Linked DNA regions of Homo sapiens: region 2 is linked to region 1. The links are contacts of gene promoters, found by promoter capture Hi-C in blood cells and fetal thymus (Javierre and others, 2016). All regions are on one chromosome and are shown on one strand. The core of a region is centred on a gene start or on the middle of the fragment in contact, and the rest is flanking DNA. Distances in the headings are between cores, read along the strand shown.

What was found. Contacts are between HindIII fragments. The CHiCAGO score rates a contact against its expected background, and 5 or more counts as called.
Region 2: a contact is called between a fragment that was not itself captured here and the fragment with the promoter of OR13A1 in region 1, in 4 of 17 cell types (M2 macrophages, monocytes, total B cells and 1 more). The highest score is 8.3, in M2 macrophages.

The regions. Positions count from the first base shown.
Region 1 is chr10:45,311,266-45,318,093 of GRCh38, forward strand. It overlaps OR13A1 (olfactory receptor family 13 subfamily A member 1), which reads right to left and starts at 4,343. Exons shown (of 4, transcript NM_001004297.3): 1 at 4,259-4,343. The HindIII fragment of the contact is 10,818 bases long and covers 1,808-6,828 here.
Region 2 is chr10:45,574,245-45,581,072 of GRCh38, forward strand. It overlaps a transcript of MARCHF8 not described here. Among named protein-coding and RNA genes, the nearest start is that of MARCHF8, 42 kb to the left of the region's middle. RefSeq lists an enhancer at 608-1,268. The HindIII fragment of the contact is 3,334 bases long and covers 1,786-5,119 here.

The DNA.
Region 1 (6,828 bases), core at 3,093-5,592:
TCCCAACATATTATCTTGGGCTTGCATCTTACATGATTAAAAAGAGAAATACCATTGTATCAGAGCTCCTCAACTTAATTACTTCCCATCTCAATCTTTCTACATCTTTAACTTCAGTCTTGGTTGAGCTCCACCCTCTGTGCTTGTTCTTGAGAAACAAGCAAAAGAGCTAAGAAAGGCTTAGAGCAAACTGGTAAACATTGTTATTTTCTTTTAGGTATCCATATTGCGACAGGGTCTTGATATAATATCCATACTAGGTATAATTTGCATACCAGATATTCAAAGAAGTAGGAGAATATGGCCATAGTGAGAAAAATAAAATCAACTCAGAAATGACAAAAATAAGAGAACTAGTAGAGACATTAAAATAGTAGTGATACAAAGAGAGGAACAATAAACACTGGGGCCTACTTGAAGTTGGAGGGTAGGAGAAGGGAGAGGAACAGAAAAACAACTATTGGGTACTAGGCTTAGTACCTGAGTGATGAAATAATAAACAAACTCCTGTGACACGAGTTTACCTACATAACAAACCTGCACATGTACCTCTGAACCTAAGGTAAAAGTTGTAATAAAATAAAATAGTTGTCATAACTATATTTCATATGCTCAAGAAGCTAGAGAAAAGACTTAGCATATCAAATAGAGACAAAGAAGATATAAAAAGATGAACAATTTCTAGAGATGAAAACTACAATGTCTGAAATTAATAATACATTGGATGAGATTAACAGTGGATTAGACATTGCAAAAAAATTAGCAAATTAGGGAAAAGTATAATAAACCTGCCCAAATGAAATAGAAGTGGAAAAATAAACATAAGAACTGTAAGTGAGCTGTAAGACAACCTCAAATAGCCTAATATACATATAATTAGACCCCATAAGGGCATGAGAAATGGGAGAAGAACAGAAAAAAATTTGAATGAATAATGGCTACAATTTTTCTAAATGTAATGAAAAATATAAACCTACAGACTTAATAAGCTCAATGAACCCCAAGCACAATAAATATGAAGAAACTCACACCAAGCCACATGATCAAAATCAATAATAAAAATAAAATCTTAAAAACAGGCAGAGTAAAAAGGCACATTAAGTACAAAGACACAAAGATAAGAATTACAGCAGAGTTTCTATACAATCAGTACAAGCAAGAAGACAGTAGAGAAACACTAAACAGTACTGAAAGAAAAAAACTGTCAATGTAGAATTTTACACTCACTAAAAATACCTTCTGAAAATGAAGAAAAAACATTTCACAAATATAAAAGTTAAAGGAATTCATCATCAGAAGATATGAACAAAAAAAAAATGTTAAAGAAAACCCAGAGACTCACAGTGAGACACACTATAATCAAACTCTCAAAAGTCAAAGACAAAGAGACAATCTTGAAAGCAGCAAAAGAAAGTAACTTGTCATGTAAAAGGAAGCCTTTATAAAATTATCAGTGGATTTATCAACAGAAACCTTGCAGGCCAGAAGGCAGGGGGATAATATATTCAAAGAGCTGAAAGAAAAGAAAATTTCAACCAAAAATATTATATCCAGCAAAACCATCCTTCAAACATAAAGGAAAAATCAGCCTTTCCAGGATGAACAAAAACTGGGGAGTTCATTACCACTGGACCTGCTGTAGTATCTTGCAAGTTGAAACAAAAGGATGCTAAATAGTAACATGAAGTCTTATGAAAATATAAAGCTCTCCAGTAAAGATAAATATATGGACATATATAGAGACTGTACTATGCAGTTTTGGTACATAAATGCACTTTTAATTCTTGTATAGAATTTACAAGACAAAAGCTTAAAAATAACTATAAAACTGTGTTAATGAATACATTACATATGAAGATGTAACTTGTGACATAAGTAACCTAAGGTGAGGGTAGGAGCTTTGAAGAAATAGTTTTTGTACACAGTCGAAGTTATTCTCTTAACAGTTTAAAATAGCTTGTTAACACTTTAAGATGTTTTTTATAATTCTTATGGTAACCATAAAAAAATCTATAGAATACACACAAAAGGAAACAGGAAGGGAATCAAAATGTCACCACAAAAAAAAATCGACAAAACCCAAAAGAGGTCAGTAAGAGAAGGAATAAAAAACAAAATTTACAAAACATACAGGAAACAACAAAATGGCAAGTGTAGGTCCTTCCCTATCAGTAATTACTTTAAATGTAAATGGATTAAACTCCTGAATCAAAAGATATAGACTGGAAAATGGATTTGTAAAAAGGATCCAACTTTATCCTGTCATTTAGGTCTAAGAAACAAATATGCTTAAAATGAAAAAAAGGAAAAGTAAATGCCATGCAAATGGTAAATAAAAGCAAGCAGAAGTGACTATACTACTATCCAACAAAATAGACTTAAAGTCAAAAATAGTCACAAGACAAAAAAATGGATATTATATAACAAAAAGTCAATTCAGCAGAAAGATATAACAATTACAAATATATATACCTCTAATACCAGAGCTCCTAAATATCTGAAGCAAACATTGACAGATCAGAGAGGAAACATAAACAGCATAATAATGGTAGGCGACTTCAATTCCTCACTTACAATAATGGCTAGAACAACAAGACAGAAAATCGATAAGGAAATACAGTACTTGAACAACACTATAAATAGTGCTAACAAACATGTGCAGAACATTCCACCCAATAAAATCAGAATAGTATTTTTCTCAAGTTTACATGGAATATTCCCAAAGATAAATCACATGTTATACCACAAAAAAACTTGTAACAAATTTTAAAAGATTGAAATTATACAAAATATCTATTTTGATGAAAATGACATAAAACTAGACATCAGTAGCAGAAGGAAAACAAAAAATTCACAAATATGTGAAAATTAAACAACACAGTTTTCAACAAGCAATGGGTCAAAAAAGAAATCACAAGGGAAGTTAGAAAATATCTTGAGATAAAGGAAAATAAAAATACAATGTACCAAAATGTGTAAGATGCAGCAGAAGCAGTGCTAACAGAGAATTTTATAGCTATAAATATGTGCATTATAAAAGGAAGAAAGTGGCTAGGCATGGTGGGTCATGCCTGCAATCCCAGCACTTTGACAGGCTGAGGGAGGAGAACTTCTGGAGGCCAGGAATTTGAGACCAGCCTGGGCAACAAAGCAAGACCCCATCTCCACAACTTAAGAAAAAAAAAAAAAGAAGTAGAAGAAAGTTTGCAAATCAACAACCTAACTTTATACCTCAGGAAACTAGGAGAGAAAAAAAACTACACCCAAAGCTAGCAGAAGGAGGAAAATCCTAAAGATTAGATTAAATCAGAGATAAATGAAATATAGAATATAAAAACAATAGAAAAAAATCAACAAAACTAAGAGGTGGTTTTTGAAAACACCAACAAAATTAACAAATGCTTAGCTAGATTAACTAAGGAAAAAAGATTCAACTAATAAATCAGAAATAAAAAAGAGAACATTAGAACCCATGCCATAGAAATCAAAAGGATTATAAGAAAATACCATCAACAGTTAATTATATGTCAACAAATTGGATAATTTAGAAGTGCATAAATTTCTAGAAATATACAACCTAATAAGAGTGAATCATGAAGAAGTAGAAAAAACGAACAGACTTATAACTACGAAGGAGATTAAACTGGTTCAAAAACCTCCAAACAAACAACAGCCCAGAACCGGATGACTACCAAACATTTAAGGAAGAATTAGAACCAATGTTTCTCAAAGTCATTTACAAAAATGAATATAAAAAACACTTCAAAGCTCATTATATGAGGCCAGTATTACCCTGATTTCAAAGTCAAACAAAGACATTACATGAAAAGAAAACTACAGACCAATATTTGTGATGATCAGGTTGGCTTTATTCCTGGAATGCAAGAATGATAGAACATGTGGCAGGGTGTGCTGGCTCATGCCTGTAATCCCAGCACTTTGGGAGGCTGAGACAGGAGAATCCCTTGAACCCAGGAGGCAAATGTTGCAGTGAGCTGAGGTCATGCCACTGCACTCCAGCCAGAATGACAGAATGAGATTTCATCTCAAAAAAAAAGAATAATACAACATGCAAAAATCAATGTAATACACTATAGTAATAGAATAAAGGACAAAACAGCATGATCATTTATATTGATGTAGAAAAAATGTTTAACAAAATTTAACACCTTTTATCACGAAAACACTCAGCAAACTAGGAATAGAAGGAAAATAACATAATAAAGGCCATATATGAAAAATCCACAGGTAAACTTACACTCAATGGTAAAAGATTCAAACTTTTCTTCTGGATTAGGAACAAGACAAGTATACTCTGTCTCTTCGCTTCTATTCAATATAGTATTTGAATTTCCAAGCAGACCAATTAGGAAAAAAAAATTAAGCAAGAAAAGACATCCAAAGAATAAAAGAAAAAAGTAAAATTATCTCTGCTCACAGATGACTTGATCCTATATGCATAAAATCCTAGACTCCTGCATAAAATCTAGAAAACTGTTAGATGCATATATGCATAAAATCCAGAAAACTGTTGGAACTATTAAACAAATTCTGGAAAGTTGCAGGATCCAAAATCGACACACAAAAATCAGTTGCCTTTCTATAAATTAACTATAAACAATCCAAAGGTAATTAAGAAAATAATTTAATTACAATACCATCAAAAATAGTAAAATACTTAGGAATAAACTTAGCCAGGGAAATAAAAGGCTTGTACACTGAAAACTACAAAACAGTACTGAAAGAAGTCACAAATAAATGTAAAGACATTGGTATTCATGGATTGGAAGATTTAATGTTAAGATCTCCAAAATATCAGATGTATTCCCCAAATCTGTACAACATTATGTATTAATTTGAAAAGTCAATAGAACCCAAAGCAGTCTACAAATTATATGTAATCCCTATCAAAATCTAAGCTGCATTTTTTGAAAAAAGAGAAAAATTTATCTAAATATTCATATATACTCTGACTAGACAATCTTGAAAACTAACTGAGTTGAAGGTCTCATGCTCCGTGATCTCAAAACATGTTACAAGACTACAGTAATTAAAACAGCATGACACTGGCTTAAAGAGAGACATATAGACCAATGGAATAGAATAAAGAACCCATTAAAAGAAAACTCCACATATATGGTCAAATAATATTTACAGCATTCCAGATCCGCTCAATGAGGGAAGAACATTCTCTTCAACAAACAGTGTTGGGAAACTTGGATATCCACACATGAAAGAGTGAAGTTGAAACTTTGTCTTATGCCATATACAAGAATTAACTCAAAATGGATTTAAAACTTAAATGGAAGATCTAAAACTATAAAACTCTTAGAATAAGGGGATATGGCAATTATTTTTTAATATGACACCAAAAGTACAGACAACAAAAGAAAAAATAGACAATTGGGACTACATCAAACTTTTTAAAACTTTTATGCATTAAAGGACATAACAATGTTAAAAAAAACTTGTGGATGGAAGAAAATATTAGTAAATTATATATCTGATAAAGAGTTAATATCCAGAATATATAAATAATTTCTACAACACAATATTTAAAAATAATATGATTTTAAAATGGCAAAAGGATTTGAATAGACATTTCTTTTAAAATTATATATGAATGGGCAAAAAACATAAGAAAAAATGCTCAGCATCCAAACTGGAAAGGAAATCATTAGAGAAATGTAAATCAAAACCACAATGTAATATCTCCTCACAAAAATTGAGTGGTTTACTATTAAGAAAAAGAAATATTAGATAGGATGCAGTTGATAGCAAACAGCTTAAAAGCAACGTGACCCCAGATACTAACTCAAAGCCACACAAAAAACAAAAAGCTCTGGCAAAGACATTTATTTATATTTTTATTTATGTATTTATTGAGGGTTTTGCTGTTTTGTTGTTGTTGTTGTTTACTGTTTTATTTTTGCTTTTTCAACTTTTATTTTAGATTCAGAGGGCACTTGTGCAAGTTTGTAACCTGGGTATATTGTGTGATGTTGAGGTTTGGGGTATGAATGGTCCCATTACCCAGATACTGAGAATAGTACTCAACAGTTTTTCAACACTTTCTCCCTTCCCTCCTTCACCACCCCAATAGTCCCCAGTGTCTATTGTTGCTATCTTTATGTCCATCAGTACCCAGTGTTTACCTCCCCCTTATGAGTGAGAATATGTGGTATTTGATTTTCTGTTTCTGTATTTGTTTGCCTAGGATAAAGTCCTCTAGCCAAATCCATGTTGCTGCAAATGACATGATTTTCTTCATTTTCTTTTATTTTTTATTTTTATTTATTTTTTTTTATTATTATACTTTAAGTTTTAGGGTACATGTGCACAACGTGCAGGTCAGTTACATATGTATACATGTGCCATGTTGGTGTGCTGCACCCATTAACTCGTCATTTAGCATTAGGTATATCTCCTAATGCTATCCCTCCCCCAGCCCCCCACCCCACAACAGTGCCCAGTGTGTGATGTTCCCCTTCCTGTGTCCATGTGTTCTCATTGTTCAATTCCCACCTATGAGTGAGAACATGAGGTGTTTGGTTTTTTGTCCTTGCAATAGTTTGCTGAGAATGATAGTTTCCAGCTTCATCCATGTCCCTACAAAGGACATGAACTCATCATTTTTTATGGCTGCATAGTATTCCATGGTGTATATGTGCCACATTTTCTTAATCCAGTCTATCATTGTTGGAAATTTGGGTTGGTTCCAAGTCTTTGCTCTTGGGAATAGTGCCACAATAAACCTACGTGTGCATGTGTCTTTATAGCAGCATGATTTATAGTCCTTTGGGTATATACCCAGTAATGGGATTGCTG
Region 2 (6,828 bases), core at 2,203-4,702, 260 kb after region 1:
GTTACAGCATGGACTTTTAAAGCCTATAAACTCTCCTTACAATTCCCCCATTTTACCTGTCCAAAAACCAGACAAGTCTTACAGGTTAGTTCAGGATCTGCATCTTATCAACCAAATTGTTTTGCCTATCTACCCCGTGGTGCCAAACCCATATACTCTCCTATCCTCAATACCTCCCCTCCACAACCCATTATTCTGTTCTGGATCTCAAACATGCTTTCTTTACTAGTCCTTTGCACCCTTCATCCCAGCCTCTCTTCGCTTTCACTTGGACTGACCCTAACACCCATCAGGCTCAGCAAATTACCTGGGCTGTACTGCCACAAGGCTTCACAGACAGCCCCCATCACCTCAGTCAAGCCAGTGTTCTTACACAAGAGCTGGGACCGCGCCCTGTAGCCTTTTTATCCAAACAATTTGACCTTACTGTTTTAGCCTAGCCCTCCTGTCTGCATGTGGCGGCTACCGCTGCCTTAATACTTTCAGAGGCTTTCAAAATCACAAACTATGCTCAACTCACTCTCTACAGTTCTCATAACTTCCAAAATCTATTTTCTTTCTCACACCTGATGCATATACTTTCTGCCCACCCCACTACCTCTCAGCAAGCCAAACTCATTGCCTTAACTTGAGCCCTCACTCTTCCAAAAGGACTACACATCAATATTTATACTGACTCTAAATATGCCTTCCATATCCTGCACCACCATGCTGTTATATAGGCAAAAAAAAAAAAAAATTCCTCACTATGCAAGGGTCCTCCATCACTAATACCTCTTTAATAAAAACTCTTCTCAAAGCCGCTTTACTTCTGAAGGAAGCTGGGGTCATTCACTGCAAGGGCCATCAAAAGGCATCAGATCCCATTGCTCAGGACAACGCTTATGCTGATAAGGTAGCTAAAAAAGCAGCCATCAAAAAGTATCAGATCCCATCGCCCAGGACAATGCTTATGCTAATAGGGCAACTAAAAAAAGCAGCCAGCGTTCCAACTTCTATCTCACAGAGCAGTTTTTCTCCTTCTCATCTGGCCACTCCCACCTACTCCCCCACTGAAACTTCCACCTATCAATCTCTTCCCACACAAGGCAAGGGTTTTTGGACCAAGGAAAATATATCCTTCCAGCCTCACAGGCCCACTCTATTCTGTCGTCTTTTAATACCTGTTTTTCTCCTCTTATTCTGTTTAGTTTTTCAATTCATACAAAACCATATCCAGGCCATCACCAATAATTCTATACGACAAATGCTCCTTCAAACAACCCCACAATATCACCTCTTACCACAAAATCTTCCTTCAGCTTAATCTCTCCCACTCTAGGTTCCCATGCCGCTCCTAATCCCGCCCTGAGAAACATCGCCCATTATCTATCCATACCAGCCCCAAAAATTTTCGCTACCCCAACACTTTACCACTATTTCGTTTTATTTTTCTTATTAATATAAGACTACAGGAATGTTAGGCCTCTGAGCCCAAGCTAAGCCATCATATGCCCTGTGACCTGCACATATATATCCGGATGGCCTGAAGTAACTGAAGAATCACAAAAGAAGTGAAAATAGCCTGTTCCTGCCTTAACTGATGACATTACCTTGTGAAATTCCTTCTCCTGGCTCATCCTGGCTCGAAAGCTCCCCCAATGAACACCTTGTGACCCCCACCAAAGAACAACCCGCTTTGACTAATTTTCCTTTACCTACCCAAATCCTATAAAATGGCCCCACCCCTTTCTCCCTTTGCTGACTCTTTTCGGACTCAGACCGCCTGCACCCAGGTGATTAAAAAGCTTTATTGCTCACACAAAGCCTGTTCCGTGGTCTCTTCACAGGGACATGAGTGAAATTTAAACTATCTGACTTCAAGGCTTCTTACAGAGCTACAATAATCAGGAGAGTACTGTGCTGGCCTAAAGACAAACAAACAGATCAAGAGAACAGAATACAAAGTCCAGAAACAGACTCACACATATACAGTTAAATGATTTTCAGGGGAGGCATCAAAGCAATTCAATGGGGAATTGCTTTTCAACAAATAGTGCTGGATCAGTTGGATATCCAATACAGAACAATGATGAACTTCAACCCCATCTCACACCATGAATAAAAAATAATTTGAGATTGATCATAGATCTGAACCTAAAGCCAAAACTATAAAACTTCTAGAAATAAATACAGCATATCTTTGCACAGAGTGTAGGCAAGATGCAAGAAAAGCATTTGATGAAATTCAACCTAAGGAAGATGCAAGAAGTACCACCCCCTCATGGTGTTAGAATAACACTGGTAGAATCAATATGAAATCATATTGTTAATAGTTGTTAATATATGTGTGTATACATAGATGTTGCTAGGGTATGAACGTGTCCCCAAAATTCTCATGTTGAAACTTAATCACGCCCTGGTGTCCTGGCTCAAGCCTGTAATCCTAGCACTCTGGGAGGCCAAGGCAGGAGAATTGTTTGAGCTCAGGAATACAAAACTAGCCTGGACAACACAGTGAGGCTTCATCTCTACTACAAATAAAAATTAAAAAAAAAAAAAAAAAACTAGCCAGGCATGGTGGCAAGCACCTTAAAGCATCCCAGCTTAAAAGTCCCAGCTACGCACGAAGCTAAGGTGGGAAGATCACTGGAGCTCAGGAAGTCAAGGCTACAGTGAGCTACAATTGCACCACTGCACTCCAGCCTGGGTGATAAAGTGAGACTCTGTCTCTAAACAAAAAGAGAAAAGAAAAAAAAAAAAAAAAGAAACTTAATTGCCAATGCTAATATTAAGACTTGAGGACTTTATGAGGTGATTAAATCATGAGGGCAGAGACTTCATGAATGGGATTAGGGACTCATCAAAGAGCCAGAGGGTGAAATAAGCCAGGCACAGAAAGAGAAACATCACATGTTCTCACTTATTTGTGGGATCTAAAAATCAAAACAATTGTACTAATGAACATAGACAGTAGAAGGATGGTTACTGGAGGCTGGGAAGTTAATGGGGGGCTGTGGGGAAGGTGGGGATGGTTAATGGGCACAAAAAAAAAATTGAAAGGATGAATAAGACTCACTATTTGATAGAACAACAGGATGACTACAGTCAATAGTAACAATTATACATTTTAAAATAAGAGTGTAATTGGATTGCTTGTAACACAAAGGATAAATGCATGAGGGGATGTATACCCTATTTGCCGCGATATGATTATTTCACATTGCATGCCTGTATCAAAATATCTCATGCACCTCACAAATATATATATACCTACTATGTGCCCACAAAAATTAAAAATTAAAAATATTATTTAAAAAAGGGCTGGAGGAGCTAGTCAGCCCTTTTGCCCTTCCACTTTTCCATCACACGAAGATACAGCAAGAAGGCCCTCACCAGAGAATGAATGCTGGTGCCTTGAACTTCCCAGCTGCTAGAACCATAAGAAATCAATTTCCACTGTTTATAAATTACCCAGTCTCAGGTATTTTGTTATAGCAGCATAACGAACTAAGATATATAAATTTAAAATAAGTATCTGTAATCCTACCACTTTAAGGAGGCCAAAGCAGAGGACTGCCTGTGGCTAGGAGTTAAGACCAGCCTGGAGAATACAGCAAGATCCCATCTCTACTAAAAATTTTAAAAATAGCTGGGCATGGTGGCCCATGTCTGTAGTCCTAGCTACTTGGGAAACCAAGGTAGGGGGATTTGCTTGAGCCCAGGAGTTCGAGGTTACAGTGAGCTATGATCATACCACTGCATTCCAGCCTAGGAGACAGAGTGAGACCCTGTCTCTAAAAAAATTGTTTAATAAAAAATTAAAATATGGATATACATATATCTATTTACACACAAACAAACATATCCTAGCTGTGGCCACTGAGTAGGCCTAGAAATAATGACACATCAGTCACAATAAGCACATCATATATCCAGATCTTGATTTCCAAATACCATTTTTTCCTCACTAATAGTAACAATACTCCTCGAAGAAAAGCTGATTTGAGGGGTGGGCCATACAAAATGAGCCCAGATCATCTTGTTGCACCAGAAAGTAAATAGGTACTCAAAGAATTCTGGAGACATATGAAAACACAGAAGCCAGTTTGAAAGAGTTTACACAGACCAAATTTGGGATGATTTTAGTATCAAGATAATAACAGTAATGAGTTACAGACCACTAAATAAGAATATGTATATGAATCATTCAAATAAATAATTGAACAAATAAATAAATGGGATGTGGAGGGAGGAGGGAAAGGTCTTCCTTACAGTAGAATGCCAATCAATAGCTACAGAAGGAAGCATGCAGTTGGAAAGTCATCACTGGACGCTAAAACTAGTGGGTGAAAGTTTGATGAGGAACAGGATATTAACACATTGTCAACAAATATTAACTTCAAAGAGAAAAACAGTATCATGGCAGTAGAGAAATCTGGCAGATACCAACTAAACCAACTGTTTGATGTTATCAGCAATATTAGAACAAACTGACATCAGGTTGCTCCTAATATGCTGCACTGAGAAAAATAAAAATCACTTTTTTGTTATCCTTGCATAAAATGCATGAACTGAATCTAACCATGAGGAAATTTCAGACAAGTAAAAAGTGAGGGACATTCTAAAAAAATAACTGATCTGTACTCTTCCAAAAGATCAATGTCAAGAATGACAATGAAAGGTTAACAAAGTACTCCAGATTAAAGGAGACTAAAGAAATATGATAATTTCATGGCGATTCAGGACTGGATACTGGACATGGAAAACAAAAGGGCAATAAAGGACATTATAGGGACAACTGTTGAAACTGCACTATGAATTAGATAACAACACCGTACCAATTGTTAAATTTCTTGACTGCTAATTTTACTGTGGTTATGCAAGAGAATACCCTGGCTCTTAGAAATACATGTTGAAGTATTCTTAGGACTTATACAACTTAAACTCAAATGAATCACAAAAAATACATTCACATATATGCATAAAAAGAAAGGGGGAAAGAGTGATAAAGCTAATGAGGTAAAATACAAACAACTGGTGAATCTTAGTAAATTATATGTAGTAATTCTCTATATTCTTTGTGTATTTTTTCTGTAAGTTACACATAAAGCAAAAGACATAACTAGAAAACTAGGTAAGCTTTTTTTTTTTACAAAAATGACAGACAAAAAGTCACTACCTTTCATATATAAACAAGCTATATAAAGCAAATTTCTTTTAAAAAGCACTATAACCCCTCCAAAAGATTAACAGGAAAAGGACATGTACAGCCAACTGCACAAAAGAAGCTAATGAAGTTTTAAAGGAAAGCAAAAACAAAAAGTCAATGAAAGATGAGATGTTTTCCACCTGTTAAATCGGTAATTTTCTTTTTAGAAAACATCAACATTGGCAAGGATGTCCTAAAATGGCCACTCAACACCTTGCTAGTGGAAGCATTAATTAGAATCTTTTAGGAAAGCAGTTCAGCAATATGAATCAAGAGCCTTAAAAATATCCACACCAGGCCAGGCGTGGTGGCTCACGCCTATAATCCCAGCACTTTGGGAGGCAGAGGTGGGTGGATTACCTGAGATCAGGAGTTCGAGACCAGCCTGGCCAACATGGTGAAACCCTGTCTCTACTAAAAATACAAAAGTTAGCCGGACGTGGTGGCGGGCATTGTAATCCCAGCTACTCGGGAGGCTGAGACAGGAGAATTGCTTGAACTCGGGAGGCGGAGGTTGCAGTGAGCCGAGATCATACCACTGCACTCCAGCCTGAAAGACTCCGTCTCCAAAAAAAAAAAAAAAAAAAAAAAAAAAATCCACAGTATTCTACTTCATGACACTATCTGAAAGAAATAATCTAAACTGTGGACTAAAATTTATGCTGAAGATATTCATCAAATGATAACTATAATAGCAAAATTCTTAAAATAATCCACATTAAACAATAGCGAAATCATTACGTAAACAACTTAGGATATAACCACAAAACGCAATATGCAGTCATTAGAAGTTATTTAAAATCAGGAAATATGACATAATAAATGTTAAGAGAATAAAGTTTACAAAATGGGCAGTTAGGATGATCTTAAGTAAAAAAAAAAATTCATAAAGCTCAGAACAGACATATTATAAACAGTGACTGTTTGAAAATGAAAATAAGTAGGGAATATGAACACCTGTCCCAGTCTCCAGTTTATGAGATCTCACCCCTCACCATCTGTGAACTACCACCGCTTACATGATGGTGCCTGTCTCACTCCCTGTGCACTCCAAGTATTTCTTGAGGCCATGGCACCATACCTGGCTGCATTCAGTAAACATTTGCTGCTTCAAATTTACAAACTCTCCCACCTCATTTCATATATGTAAAAAATGTATCTAGCTATTTAAGTCACCTGAAAACTGAAACTATATTGAATATGAAGTTCGTCAAGAACCAGTTTCACTTTTCTTTGCTTCTTTCAAATAAAAACATTAAGGAGGAAACATGCTTGGAGCTTTCGTTAACAACAGACTCCAAGGCAGGCTTGAGACAATATAAAGATACCACATACCTGATTAGTATTGTGCGCTAGGACCACCGGTGGTATTGTCAGTTTATTTTCATGTCAAAGATCATTTGCTTTAGCAGTCTAATCTTAGCTACCACAAAAAAACACACCCATCTGTGTGCTGCCAGAGCTTAGCCCCTACCCAGGGCCACACCTGACTCCAGCTCTGCCCTATTCCCCACTGATTCCACCTTCTACTTGGCAACTTTCTGCCTAATTAGCTAAGCAGAGCACAGTCAGGTAAGAGGAGGCTGTGAGCAAGGCTGGGAACACGGAGAAACCAGACAAGAGTAGGAAGACCTTAA